Regions from separate parts of the Homo sapiens genome. Here region 2 is linked to region 1. The links are contacts of gene promoters, found by promoter capture Hi-C in human tissues and cell types (Jung and others, 2019). All regions are on one chromosome and are shown on one strand. The core of a region is centred on a gene start or on the middle of the fragment in contact, and the rest is flanking DNA. Distances in the headings are between cores, read along the strand shown.

The links. Contacts are between HindIII fragments. The study calls those that stand out against the background at their distance.
Region 2: a contact is called between a fragment that was not itself captured here and the fragment with the promoter of AIPL1 in region 1, in 1 of the 25 tissues and cell types used here (H1 embryonic stem cells).

The regions. Positions count from the first base shown.
Region 1 is chr17:6,433,871-6,440,459 of GRCh38, reverse strand. It overlaps AIPL1 (AIP like 1 HSP90 co-chaperone), which reads left to right and starts at 5,339. Exons shown (of 6, transcript NM_014336.5): 1 at 5,339-5,451; 2 at 6,362-6,541. The coding sequence starts at 5,356. LOC107985017 (a long non-coding RNA gene) reads left to right here. Exons shown (of 3, transcript XR_001752776.2): 3 at 3,123-3,162. The HindIII fragment of the contact is 7,871 bases long and covers 2,495-6,589 here.
Region 2 is chr17:6,274,348-6,280,936 of GRCh38, reverse strand. No RefSeq gene overlaps it. Among named protein-coding and RNA genes, the nearest start is that of AIPL1, 160 kb to the left of the region's middle. The HindIII fragment of the contact is 4,330 bases long and covers 1,589-5,918 here.

The DNA of each region.
Region 1 (6,589 bases), core at 4,090-6,589:
AGATGCAGACAGGTGAAATATCTGGTCCAAGATTGTATGGGATGTCAGAACTGGAGCTTAAATCCAGTGACTGACTTCAAAGCCTGAATTCTTACCCTTAGATTACACAACTTTGTTAAGATCAGGGGTGAAACAATGAATGCATGCATGCATAAAGAGGCCCTCCCTGCTTGGAGCTTTCCACCATCTTCCCTCACTCAGAATGGTAACTGGCAGGCCAGGTTAATGAAGAACAGTCTCCATGGCAACAAGTAAAGGGGGAAGAAACATTTTCTTATGAATGGGAAGCCTTTCCCTTTTGCCTTGCGTGGAGTGGTGGCTGGAGGGAGGGAAGGAGGCTGTACTCAGGGGAAGGAGGCTCCTAGTCCAGAGGTCGGTACATTGGCTTCTGTTCTTGGTAAGGAGGAAAAACCAGTCACTTTTTCCTAGCAGAGGCTTTTGGAGGGGGAGGGAATCCAGCATCACCCTTGCCTCCGTTGGGGAGGGGGACAAACGAGGAGCTCCAGCCCTGCTCTCCAGGGGCTCTTTGTCCAAGAGCAAACATTCCACTAGTTTCCTTGACCTCCTGAAACTGTCAATCTGATGGAAGACATAGACATTAAACACATCATTGTAAACAATTACAATGGGGCAAAATAGCATGAATGTGCAGTGCTAGGGAGAAGTGACAGGGTATAAGGGGCATGGGGAGATTGACAGGAGCTGGAGGTCAGGGTAGTCTTCCCTGAATGTGTGGTGTTTGAAGTGAGGAGCTAGTGGGCCAGTGGTTGGGAGTCTGGAGCATTGCCAAGCGTTAGGACTGGGGAAAGCCTAGACAAAAAGGGTGGGGCTGAGATGAGGGGCTGAGGGTAGGGGATGGGGTGGCAAGAGACAGGGTCTGTAGGCCAGAGAAGGAGCTTAAAATTTGTCCTGAAGGTGGTGGCAACTCTTTGCTGAATTTGAAGAGGGCAGTAGGTTATTAGATTGGCATTTTAATAAAGTCCATGAGGAGACTGGTTTGGGAGCAGCTATGGTTTTAATGTGTCCCCCAAATTTCATCTGTTGGAAACCGAATCCTCAAATTCGTATGTTGATGATATTTATGGGTGGGACCTTTGGAGGGTCATTAGGATTAGATAATATTATCAGGGTAGGACCCTGTGATAGGATTGGAGGCTTTACAAGAAGAGGAATGGAGACCTGAGCTGATGTGCGTGCTCTTGTCCTCTCACCATGTGATGCCTTCCACCACGTTATGATGCAGCAAGAAGGCCCTCACCAGATGCCAGCACCATGCTCTTGGATTTCCCAGCATCCAGAACTATGAGCTAAATAAATGTCTTTTTTAAAAAAATAAATTATGCATTCTGTGGTGTTCAGTTATAATCACAGAAAATGAACTAAGACAGGGGGCAAAGGGTTTCTGGGGCATCAGTCTGTAGCCTGTGGCACAACTCCAGGCACAGACCAGGAGTGAATCCTCATTCTTCTCAGCAGGGAAACCAACCCCCCTGGCATCGGCTTCAACATCCCCTTTTCTTCTCGCCCCCACATCCCCCAATCAGCTACAGGCTACATCTATCAGTTCTACTGTTTAAACATCTCTGCAATGTGTGTGTGCCCTTCGACCCTCTACAAAGGGAAACAACAGAAACAGTGGGAGAGTTTTAAGAAGTGTGAGAAGAGACATGATTGGATCCTTTTCACTGTGAATTATATCACCGATAGAAAACTGCCTAAGACATAAAATCTAGTGTCATGAATACAGTGAGTCCTTACTTAATGCTGTCAATAGGTGTTTGAAAACTGACTTTAGGCCGGGCGTGGTGGCTCACGCCTGTAATCCCAGCACTTTGGGAGGCCAAGGTGGGTGGATCACCTGAGGTCAGGAGTTTGAGACCAGCCTGGCCAGTGGCCAATGTGATGAAACTCCGTATCCACTAAAAAAAAAAAAAAAAAAAAAAAAAAAAATAGCTGGGTGAAGTGGCAGGCACCTGTAATCCCAGCTACTTGGGAGGCTGAGGCAGGAGAATCACTTGAACCCAGGAGGTGGAGGTTGCAGTGAGTCAAGATCGCGCCATTGCACTCCAGCCTGGGTGACAAGAGCAAAGTTCCATCTCAGAAAAAAAAAAAAAAAAAGAAGACTGACTTTAAATGAAATGACATATAAGGAAACCACCTTTTTTTCTCATCAACATTATAATGAAATGATGACATTGATTGAAACGATGTTATTTGAGGACCTGATGTATGTCCTTTCATTTCAGACTGCAGTTTCCAAGAACCTAAAAGGACATTAAGTGAGGACTTACTGTACTTATAAAGCCAACACCCATGTAACCATCACCTAGGTCAAGGGTGAGCACTGCCAGCATCCCAGAAGCAGACACTTGCCACCCGCAAGTGACAAGTGTGTTCTTCCTGTCTCCTTAGACTTTTATGATAAATACTTTTATTTTCCTTTGTAGTTTTGATACGGCTCTGATGACTGGAGGAACTCCAGGGTTCTTGGTCTTGCTCCAATAGGATTAACAACACGAACATACGTGGAGTAGTTTTAAGGAGTGAAAAGTTTAATAGGCAAGAAAGAAGGAAGGAAGAAGAGAATAGCCCCCCCATACAGAGACAGAGGGGGGGGATTTGAACAAAGAGAAAACCCCCTGTTTAGGGTGAGGGTGGTGGGAAGTAGCTGCTTATATGAGGAGGCTGAGGAGGTGGTGTCTGATTTCCATAGGGCCCAGGGGATTGGTTTGACCAGGTGTGTCATTTACAAACCCCGCAAAACACCTGGCCTTCCCACCTTAGTCCTTTAATATGCAAATGTGGGTCGCTATGATGTTCTGAACACAAGGTGTTATCTGGAGGTGGCCACGACACTCGGTACACCTGGTGACAGGGAAAAGACAGCAGGAATCTCCATATGAGTGAACCCAGTTTCTAATGGCCAGCATTTGCATGTCAAGGTTTGCCAGCCTGGCCCTTTAAGCAGCCTTTTCTGTTAGAAAAGAGATGGTTTGGGGGCTTGTTTTTTATTGCAGGAAAATTTCCACCAAGAACCTTTACCCTTACTATCTGCCTAAAAATTATTTCTTAATAATTCCTGTATTAGTTTTACTAAGTATCCATTTTACCTATGCATGCAGACCTCTCTAGGTTGCCGTGTGGCTGGAGAAAGGATGGAAGAGAGAAGGGGAAGGTTTTCAGCAGCCTTCTGCCTTCCAGGGATGGAGACTGGACCCTTGGGGATCTGGCCAGGATTCCCTGGGCCTGACCAGTTGGCCCAGGTTTGGTCTCCTCTATGCCAATGACTCCTCACGGGAAGCAAGACTTTCATGAGTGCCGGATTTCAGGGTGCCATTCACTGCTGCAGCCCTCCCAACTTCCCCTGAGAAGGAGCAGGAGAGGTCAATTTTCTCATTTCAGTTGGGAAAATGCAGTTAGAGAAAACGAGAGACATCCAAGGCAACAAGGTCAGTAAATAGGAAAGGATCAGCCCTTTGAACTTAGCTGTATCTGGCTCAGTCCAGTCTTCTTCTTCTTCTTCCTTCTTCTTCCCTCTTCCCTCTTCCCTCTTCCCTCCTCCTCCTCCTCCTCCTCTTCCTTCTCCTTCTTCTTCTTCTTCTGACACAGTCTCACTCTGTGCCCCAGGCTGGAGTGCAGCAGCATGATCTTGGTGCACAGCAACCTTCATCTCCTGGATTCAAGCGATTCTCCTGCCTCAACCTCCTGAGTAGCTGGGATTACAGGTGCCCACCACCACATCCGACTAAGTTTTGTAATTTTAGTAGAGATGGGGATTCATCATGTTGGCCAGGCTGGTCTCTAACTCCTGATCTGAGGTGATCCACCTGCCTTGGCTCCCAAAGTCCTAGGATTACAGCCATGAGCCACTGCACCCAGCCTAGTCTAGCATTTTTTGTTTTGTTTTGTTTTTTTGAGACAGAGTCTCGCTGTGTTGCTCAGGCTGGAGTGCAGTGGCACGATCTCAGCTCACTGCAACCTCCGCCTCCCGGGTTCAAGCGAGGCTCCTGCCTCAGCCTCCTGAGTAGCTGGGATTACAGGTGCGCACCACCATGCCTGGGTAATTTTTGTATTTTTAGTACAGACTACTAAAAATACAAAACTCCTGACCTCAGGTGATCCACCTACTTCAGCCTCCTTAGTCCCGTGTTTTTATCTCTCCCTGTAGCAGAGTCCTGCACCCCTTCCCTCTGCAACCGGTGAGCCTGGTGTCAGGAAGAGAATGGTTTCGTGGAGCTGAGTCCAGTGCCCTCAGGGTGCGGAGGTGTAGGAGCTTGAACTGGCCACACGGTGGTGCCAAACACCAGGTCTTCGCATTTATGTTTCCCAGCCCTTCTGGGCGTCCCTGATGCCCTCAATAAACTCTGCCTGGTTCCCAGGGCACAGGGCTAAGGGCCTCCAAAGGGGAGGGGAGGGGAGGGGAGGGGAGGGGATACCCACCCTTCCCCCAGCCAGACCTTGCAGGGGAGGCAGGAGCGGGGCTGCGGAGGGCGCCTCAACTTTACCCAAACCCACCCCGCCTTTCGTTCTCCGTCTTCCTTCTCTCCCAAGCCAGAAACCTGTCCCCTCTTGCCTTGGGCCACCATCGCAGGGCCTCCTGAAGGCAGATTCTGGGGAGGGGAGGGGGAACAGGGAAAGCAGAAAGGTGGCTGGATGGCAAAGGGCAGCTGTCACCCCGGCTGGCCTGGGGTCCTCGGGGACTTAGAGTCTGGGCCCAGCCCATGCCTCCCCTCCTTTTCCCCTTCAGTGGCCTCCAGGCCTCTCTCCACATCGCCAGGCTGGAGTGCAGTGGCGCTATCTTGGCTCACTGCAACCTCCGCCTCCCGGGTTCAAGCGATTCTCCTGCTTCAGCCTCCCGAGTAGCTGGAACTACAGGCGCCCGCCACCACCCCCGGCTAATTTTTGTATTTTTAGTAGAGATGGGGTTTCACCATATTAGCCAGGATGGTCTCGATCTCTTGACCTTGTGATCTGCCCGCCTCGGCCTCCCAAAGTGCTGGGATTACAGGCGTGAGTCACCGCGCCTGGTCCCCTGTCTTCTTTAAGAAAGCTCAGCGGACCTTTTTCCTTCTTGGGGTGGAACAAAAAGCCAAATCTAGCACAACCCTGGGCAGGGGCCCAGAATCACTGGAAGCAAAGGTGGATGGGATAGGAGGCGAGGCTGCCTGTGGACCACAGGCCCGGCCCGAGTGGCTCTGATGAGAAGCCGGGGCGCCTAGGTCACCGCCCCCACCGTCTGCCCTTCCCCCCACTCCTCCTGGCTGGGTAAATCCCAGAGTCTCAGCCGCCTAAGTGTCTTCCCCGGAGGTGAGATTATCTCCGCCTGTGCTGGACACCTCCCTTTCTCCTGCAGCCATGGATGCCGCTCTGCTCCTGAACGTGGAAGGGGTCAAGAAAACCATTCTGCACGGGGGCACGGGCGAGCTCCCAAACTTCATCACCGGATCCCGAGTGAGTGGGGCCCCTCCGGAGCAGACAGGGTCCCCCACAGCAGCTTTCAACATTCCAGGTGTGCCCCAAGGCACTGTAAACAGCTTTCAGCTGTGCCAAAAAAACAGCCAGGCAGCCCCAGCGCTGGGCCTCCGGGGAGCTCCCAGCGTTTACCCATTCAGGGGGCATTTTTGGTACTTTGCAGATTCAACTTTAGCATGGGCTGAGGGGAAGGGCTTTTGGGAATTTTCTGGGGCCCTAAATGTTGAGTGAGAAGAAAGGGAGTCCGAGGAGTCTTGGTATTTGTCCCCAAATGTCTGTTAGGCTTCCCTGGACTGAAGGGTGCGTCTGTGGCTACAGAATTCGGGCTTTGGCCAGGCGAGGCGGCTCCCGCCTGTAATCCCAGCACTTTGGGAGGCCAAGATGGGCAGATCATGAGGTCAAGAGTTCGAGACCAGCCTGACCAACATGTGAAACCCCATCTCTACTGAAAATACAAAAATTAGCCAGATGTGCTGGGCGCCTGTAATCCCAGTTCAGATACTCAGGAGACTGAGGCAGGAGAATCACTTGAGCCCAGGAGGTGGAGGTTGCAGTGAGCCGAGATCATACCACTGCACTCCAACCTGGGCAACAGAGTGAGACTCTGTCTCAGAAAAAAAAAAAAAAAAAAGAACTCGGGCTTACTTGAGGAAGGATTTCTGGACGCACAGGGCTGTGGGGAGTGGAATGGGGTCTGTAGGGAGGGGTGGGTCCCTCCTCCCTGGGGGGTGCAGGCAGGGTGGAGGTGCTCCAGGGGTCTGAGGCATCTGATGGGGTGAACTGAGTGAGCTGACCCTGGGGACAGCCCTGGGTGTCGGTGGCAAGGGGGTGGCTTCTGCCGGGCCTTGAACAGTGTGTCTAGAGCAGAGTGCACCGTCTCGGTGACTAGGTGATCTTTCATTTCCGCACCATGAAATGTGATGAGGAGCGGACAGTCATTGACGACAGTCGGCAGGTGGGCCAGCCCATGCACATCATCATCGGAAACATGTTCAAGCTCGAGGTCTGGGAGATCCTGCTTACCTCCATGCGGGTGCACGAGGTGGCCGAGTTCTGGTGCGACACCATCGTAAGTAGGCCCTGCGCGCCTGTCTCCTGGGACTAGTCTTTTCTGGGC
Region 2 (6,589 bases), core at 2,504-5,003, 160 kb after region 1:
TAGATCTTGCTGTTGCAAGATTCTGAAACTGAGAGGTTGTTTGTTACTGCAGCATAACCAAGTGAAAACTGCCTGCTACAAGGTAGTAGGTCTGAAGTCAGGGAGACTGGCTGAGAAGATGGGATTTGGCCTAAGGCAGGGGAAGGGGACTTGGAAGGTGGAGTGGAGAGGGCTTTGGTGACTGATGTACCACGGGGAGAGGAAGTTGCCAAGAGAACTCCAGGAATACTTGCCTGATTGTATGGGGCTTACTCTGAAGGAAGCAGGATATTTTTTAAAAAAGACTAGAGAGCCCCCCTGGAGCAACTAGAAGAGGCTTCATGGAGGGGGAATCTGGTGGGAGGGGTTCTTCAAGGCTGGACTGGGTTGGGTGATCTACTGCCAGATAGTCTGCTGCAGCCTGGACAAGCTGAGCTCTGGCTTGGCTGGGGATGATGTTCCCAGGATTCATTCAGTCATTGACTCAAAAACTAACATTTATTGAGTACCTACTATGTGTTAGGAACATTTCTAAACTTTGGAAATATTAAGATAATCAGAGAAAAAGCTATAGCTGTCAAGAAGTTTAAAGTCTGGTAGGCTGAGTGTGGGTGGCTCACGCCTGTAATGCCTGCACTTTGGGAGGCTGAAGCGGGCGGATCACGACGTCAGGAGATCGAGACCAGCCTAGGAAACATGGTGAAACCCCATCTCTACTAAAATGCAAAAAACTAGCTGGGCATGGCAGCAGGAGCCTATAGTCCCAGCTACTCGGGAGCCTGAGGCAGGAGAATAGCTTGAACCCGGGAGGCGGAGGTTGCAGTGAGCTGAGATTGCACCACTGCACTCCAGCCTGGTGACAGAGCAAAACTCCATCTCACAAAAAAAAAAAAAAAAAAAAAGGAAAAAGAAAAAGAAAAAGAAAAAGAAAAGAAAAAGTCTGGTAGATGGGAGAGGCAATAAACAAGTAACTAGTGTTGGGATCTCCCTTATCTCCTGACCACTGTCTGTTCCACTAGGCGGGGATCTTTCTCCACCTTTCTCTGCCAGGACATCTGCAGGAACCTTTCTGGCACCACCCAGTGGCTCACCTGGCGGCTGTGATCTGAGTTTGGCCTGACAGGTGAACTTCCTTCCCCGTGCCCCGACTCGCCCATCTTTGTGTGTCAGCCTTGTCACGTGTTTCTGCACTGACCGTGCCTTGTGTGGATGGAGGTGTTACAGGTAAAGGCAACCTTGAAAGCAGTCCAGGGAGGACCATGCTTTTGGAAGCAAAATGTTTTGGCACCAGGGCCTGGTGTTCTCCATGTCTGACGCGTGACCTTCACGCTCCCAGTGACGACTGCTGTGCTGTTACCACAAAATCCAATTTCAAATGATATTTATTTTAGTATCATTGTCTCCATCTCTGTCTAATTTTATTCCTATAGTTTCTTCATGCTTCCATTGACAACATCGCTGTTCTCCAAGATGGTCATAAAATAGAGTCAAGGTACATCAGATTTCCTTCCCAGGGGTGATAAGTGCAGTAGAACAGAAATTCCTTTACTAAAGGAAAACATGTTTTCATTTTTATTGTTGAAGAATATATGCAAAATTTCCATGACACAAGATACTTGTTATTAGCCAGTAACTTTTATTATGAGTTTTTTTTTTCTTTCTTAGCAAAGTAGAAACTAATACAAGTGTTTCCCAAGGTTGGACAAAGACCGATCAGACAGAGGTCAAGGGAAGATTTGTCATTAATTTGACTCTGGCTGGGCAAAAGGAGGATGTTTCTGGAAGTTCATTCCTTTGTGTGGTGTCCAGAGCCCAAGTCCTAATCGAGGCTCCACCACTGACTAGCTGCAGGATCTTGGGCAATTCCATTGCCTGGTCTGAGCCTCAGTTTCTCTCCTATAAAATGAGGGCCTCCTGCAAATAGACACACTCAGACATTGCTGGTAGTAGTGAGAATTAGCACAGCCACTTTGCAGAGGAGTTTGGCAATATCCAGCCACACTGAAAATGCAACGAAAGCTAAGACCAGCAATTCCACATCTAGGTTTCCACCTTAGAGAAACCCCCCCAGGGGTGTGCAAGGGTATTTACTGCAGCACTAATTAATGACAAAAAAAAAAAGGGAAACAACTTAGATTTCAGGCAATCAGAGGAGTAACTGAATAAAATGGAGTCTATTCATAAAATAAAATTAAAAGCAATTAAAGGAATGTGCTAGATTCACGCAGCAATATGGATAAATCTCAAGACGATCATGTTGAATGAGAAGAGTGTGTTGCAGAAAGCAGAGAAGAAGGTTATGTTGAAATTCTACCCCTTATGCTGATCAACACACACGAAGCAATACTACGAATTATCAGGGGTTTCTGTGTCTATGCCAAAGTTTAAAAATGGAACCAGAGAAGTGCACATTTAATTCATGATCATGTTTGCCTTGGCAGGATGAAAGAAAATAGAATTAGGAATGAGGAAGAAAGAGACTTTGAGTCTGGCTGTCATGTCATAATACATATGTGATTTAAATTTTATAAATTTCTAAAAAGGAAGACAAAGCAAGTAACATGAACAAATTGTCAGTTCTGCATGGTGGATAAGTAGGTGCATATGGGGTGCTGATTTTATGTTTTTCCTGTATCTTTAAAATTTCTCAACAAAATTAAAAATGAAAGCATATGCATAAAAATAAGCTGGAGGCCGGGCACTGTGGCTCACGCCTGTAATCCCAGCAGTTTGGGAGGCCGAGGCAGGTGGATCACTTGAGGTCAGGAGTTCAAGATCAGCCTGGCCAACGTGATGAAACCCCATCTCTACTAAAAATACAAAAATTAGCTGGGCCTGGTGGTGTGCATCTGTAATCCCAGCTACTCGGGAGGCTGAGGCAGGAGAGTTGCTTGAACCTGGGAGGCGGAGGTTGCAGTGAGCCGAGATTGCACCAATGCACTCCAGCCTGGGTGACAGAGTGAAACTCTGAAAAAAAAAAAAATCCCTGGAAAGGGCTCATTAGAAGGAAAAAGGTGATTCAGTCCTTTGGTCCCAACTTGTTGGGCCTCTAGGGCTAAAGAGTGTGGACTGAGGGTTCCACATCTCTTGGGATTCCCACCCTGGGAAACTCTACCCACAGTAGCTCTTACTCATCAGCCCAAACCAGGGAAGCCTGTGAGCAGTTGGTGTTGCTAAAATGTGGTATGTGAACAGGAGAAGGTGGGAATATAACAGGAAAAGGAGGCCAAGGAGCCACTCACGAGAGACTGGGGTGGCAGATGGAGCAATCAGGGTTGAAAGCACCTTTGGAGTTTTCCAGGGTGACAGAGGTAATGGGGAGGAAACACTCTAAGATGTGAGTGTGGTGCAAGTGAATGAACAAAGATGTGATGGACATGGGCTTTAGGGAGCAGGAAGCCGGCTCAGAGCAGCTAGAGAATGGAGTGGGTGCGGAAGGAGGTGAAGCTGGAGGTGCGTGTTTGGGCCAGATTATGCAAAAGCTGTGAGTACCGTGCCCAGCAGGGAGGACTCTATGCTAAGGGGCCAGGGAAGCAGCAGGCCTTGTAAGCCACCCTCTGGCAGCTGGCAAGGAGGCTGGGATGGAGAGGAGGCCCTGGAGGCAGGGGGTGTGGGAAGGTCCCACTGTCCAGGTGAGCATCCATGGGCAAGGCTGTTCTGAATTGCAGCAGTGCCAGTGAGGAGGAGGAGTGAAACTGGCTGGCAGGCACGACTGCAGTAATTACAAACACCTGCTTTTGGGCAGGCCCACAGCTTAGCACTTCACACAAGTGGATTTTTAAAATCCCAATATCCCTAGGAGGTAAGTATCACGTCCATCATCTCCATTTTACAGATGAGGAAAGGGAGGCCAAGGGAAGTTAAGAAGCTTGTGTGGGGCTCCACCACCAGACAGTGGCAGAGCCAGGCTTTTCACCCAAGCGGTCTCCATTGGAGGCCAAGACTGGACCACTGCATTGTGCTACCTCTAGGATAAACTCTGGGTAGAAACGTTGAAGCCCCCTTTGGGAAAAGATCAACTAATAAGGAGGTGATGGTGACCTGGCGCCCTCTAGCCTTTGAAGGAGACTTTACCATTTCCAAGGGGCTTTCATCCCAGCCTTGGTTCCAAAACCACTCTATGAGGTGCACAAGGCAGGTATCAGAATTCCTATTTTAGAGACAAGAAAACTGAGTCTTAGGTGGATTAAGGGACTCGACAAGCCCCCAGCTAGTGACCCCACTGTGCAGCCTGTCGATCTTCCAGCCTCTGGAATGGTCATCCATGCCCACTTCGGGCTGATCTTACACTGCTGTCACTTTAGGTTGGTCCTGAACTGTTGTCTCTTCCCCTCCTTTGCCTTGAAGCATCACAGAAGGCCTCGTGGTGTCTTTGTTTGTTTGTTTTTTTGTTTATTTATTTATTTATTTATTTATTTATTTATTTATTTATTTGAGATGGAGTCTCACTCTGTTGCCCAGGCGGGAGTTCAATGGCACGGTCTCGGTTCACTGCAAACTTTGCCTCCTGGATTCAAGTGATTCTCCTGCCTCAGCCTCCCGAGCAGCTGGGACTACAGGCGCATGCCACCACGCCCGGCTAATTTTTGTGTTTTTAGCAGAGACGGGGTTTCATTATGTTGGCAAGGCTGGTCTTGAACTCCTGACCTCATGATCTACCCGCCTTGGCCTCCCAAAGTGCTGGGATTACAGACATGAGTCACCGTTCCCAGCCCACAGTGTCTTCTTGACTCTACCTTGTCCTGGTGCCCTTCGCATCCCTGGTTTCACAGGAACGCCCTCCTGAGCACACACAGATCCCCTGGAGCCTTCTACTGTCTCCTCGCAGATACCTATTGATTAAAGCGCCAATCAGGCCTTTTGTTGGCCTCTGAGGCCATCTTTCCTCCAGGAGGCCCAATAGAGCAGTGCTTGTGGATATTTTTATGGGTCATGTTTTAAAAATTACATCCAAATTAAATTTGTGCTGATTTAATTAGAATATGGAAGCTGAGGGATTTCTTTATTGCTCTTCCTGCTGGGTCCTGGGCAAATGGCTTCTCTCTGGAAACTGCTGTGCTCACCACGAACAGATGTGGGGCAGGCTGGGCCATCCCTTGTCTGCCTGTAGATTAAATACCCTTAGGAAGTAGAAGGTCAAAACTGGAAGTGTCCTTGAGACCATCAAGTCCTCGTCCTTCCTTGCACAGAAGACAGGCTGAGCCCCAGAGATGGGCAACAAGCCACTTAAGGTCACATAGACAGGGCCAGATGGCCTTAACAATTCTGGCATCTCCTAGGAGCCTCTGTCCAGAGAAGAGGGTTGTCTGGTGAATAAGAATCTCTCCTTGGATGCTGTGAGGCACAGCAGAGCTGGAAGTCAAGGCCTCAGGAACGGCTTGAGGCTCAAGAGACCCCCAAGTAGCAACACCCCTAGATATGGCTTTAGGCACCATGCTTTCAGGGCTCTACCTCTCCAGCTCTCAGGTCTGCCTTCTCCTGAGCTGTTTTTAGCCTTAGGCTTTACTGGAAGCAGGACTAGCGTAGCAGCAGCAGACTTTATAACCTCTCATCTTGAAATATTTGGGCAAAAGGACTTTTTTTTTTTTTTGAGACAGAGTCTTGCTCTGTCGCCCAGGCTAGAATGCAGTGGCACGATCTCGGCTCACTGCAACCCCTGCCTCCCAGGTTCAAGCAATTATCCTGCCTCAGCCTCTGGAGTAGCTGGGACTACAGGTGCATGCCACTATGCCCGGCTAATTTTTGTATTTTTAATAGAGACAGGGTTTCACAATGTTGGCCAGGCTGCTCTGGAACTCCTAACCCATGATCCATCTGCCTCCCAAAGTGCTGGGATTACAGGCGTGGGCCACTGTGCCCAGCCAACATTTTTTTTTTACTTCCCCGAAGCCTCAACTGAACTCTCCAGTGGGGCATACCTCAGTCCTGCATCCCTTCTGGAGCTGAGGCAATCACAGGGCTGAGATCTAGGGGATGGTGGACCATCAGATAAAAATCGAAGGCTGTGATTACAAGAAGCCAGAAGGTGGGGTGGGGAGGAATGATAGCGCACCCCAAAACAGGTAGGACCACTGCGAAGCAGGTCAACATCGTCTTCAATGCACATGACATGGAAAGGCAATGGTTCAAATCCAAGTGTTACGACTTACAAGCTGTGCAGCCCTGAGCAAGTCAATCGATATCCCAAGCCTCATAAGGCTCATCTGAAAAACGGAGAAGCTAATCTTCACCTTATAGGGATTTTGTAGGAATTAGAGATATTAATATTATGTATACAAAGCACTTGACACAATGCCTGGCCTGGAGGAAGTCCGTAGTAGGTGGTGAGTTCTGATGGTGATGATGACAGCAGTGATGATGATGATGATGACAGCAGTGATGATGATGATGATGAGAATGATGATGATGATGACAGTGATGATGATGACAGCGATGACAATGATGATGACAGTGATGATGATGATGATGATGACAGTGATGATGATGATGATGATGACAGTGATGATGATGACAGTGATGGTGATGATGATGATGACAGTGATGGTGATGATGATGACAGTGATGATGATGATGATGTTGACAGCGATGGTGATGATGATGACAGCGATGA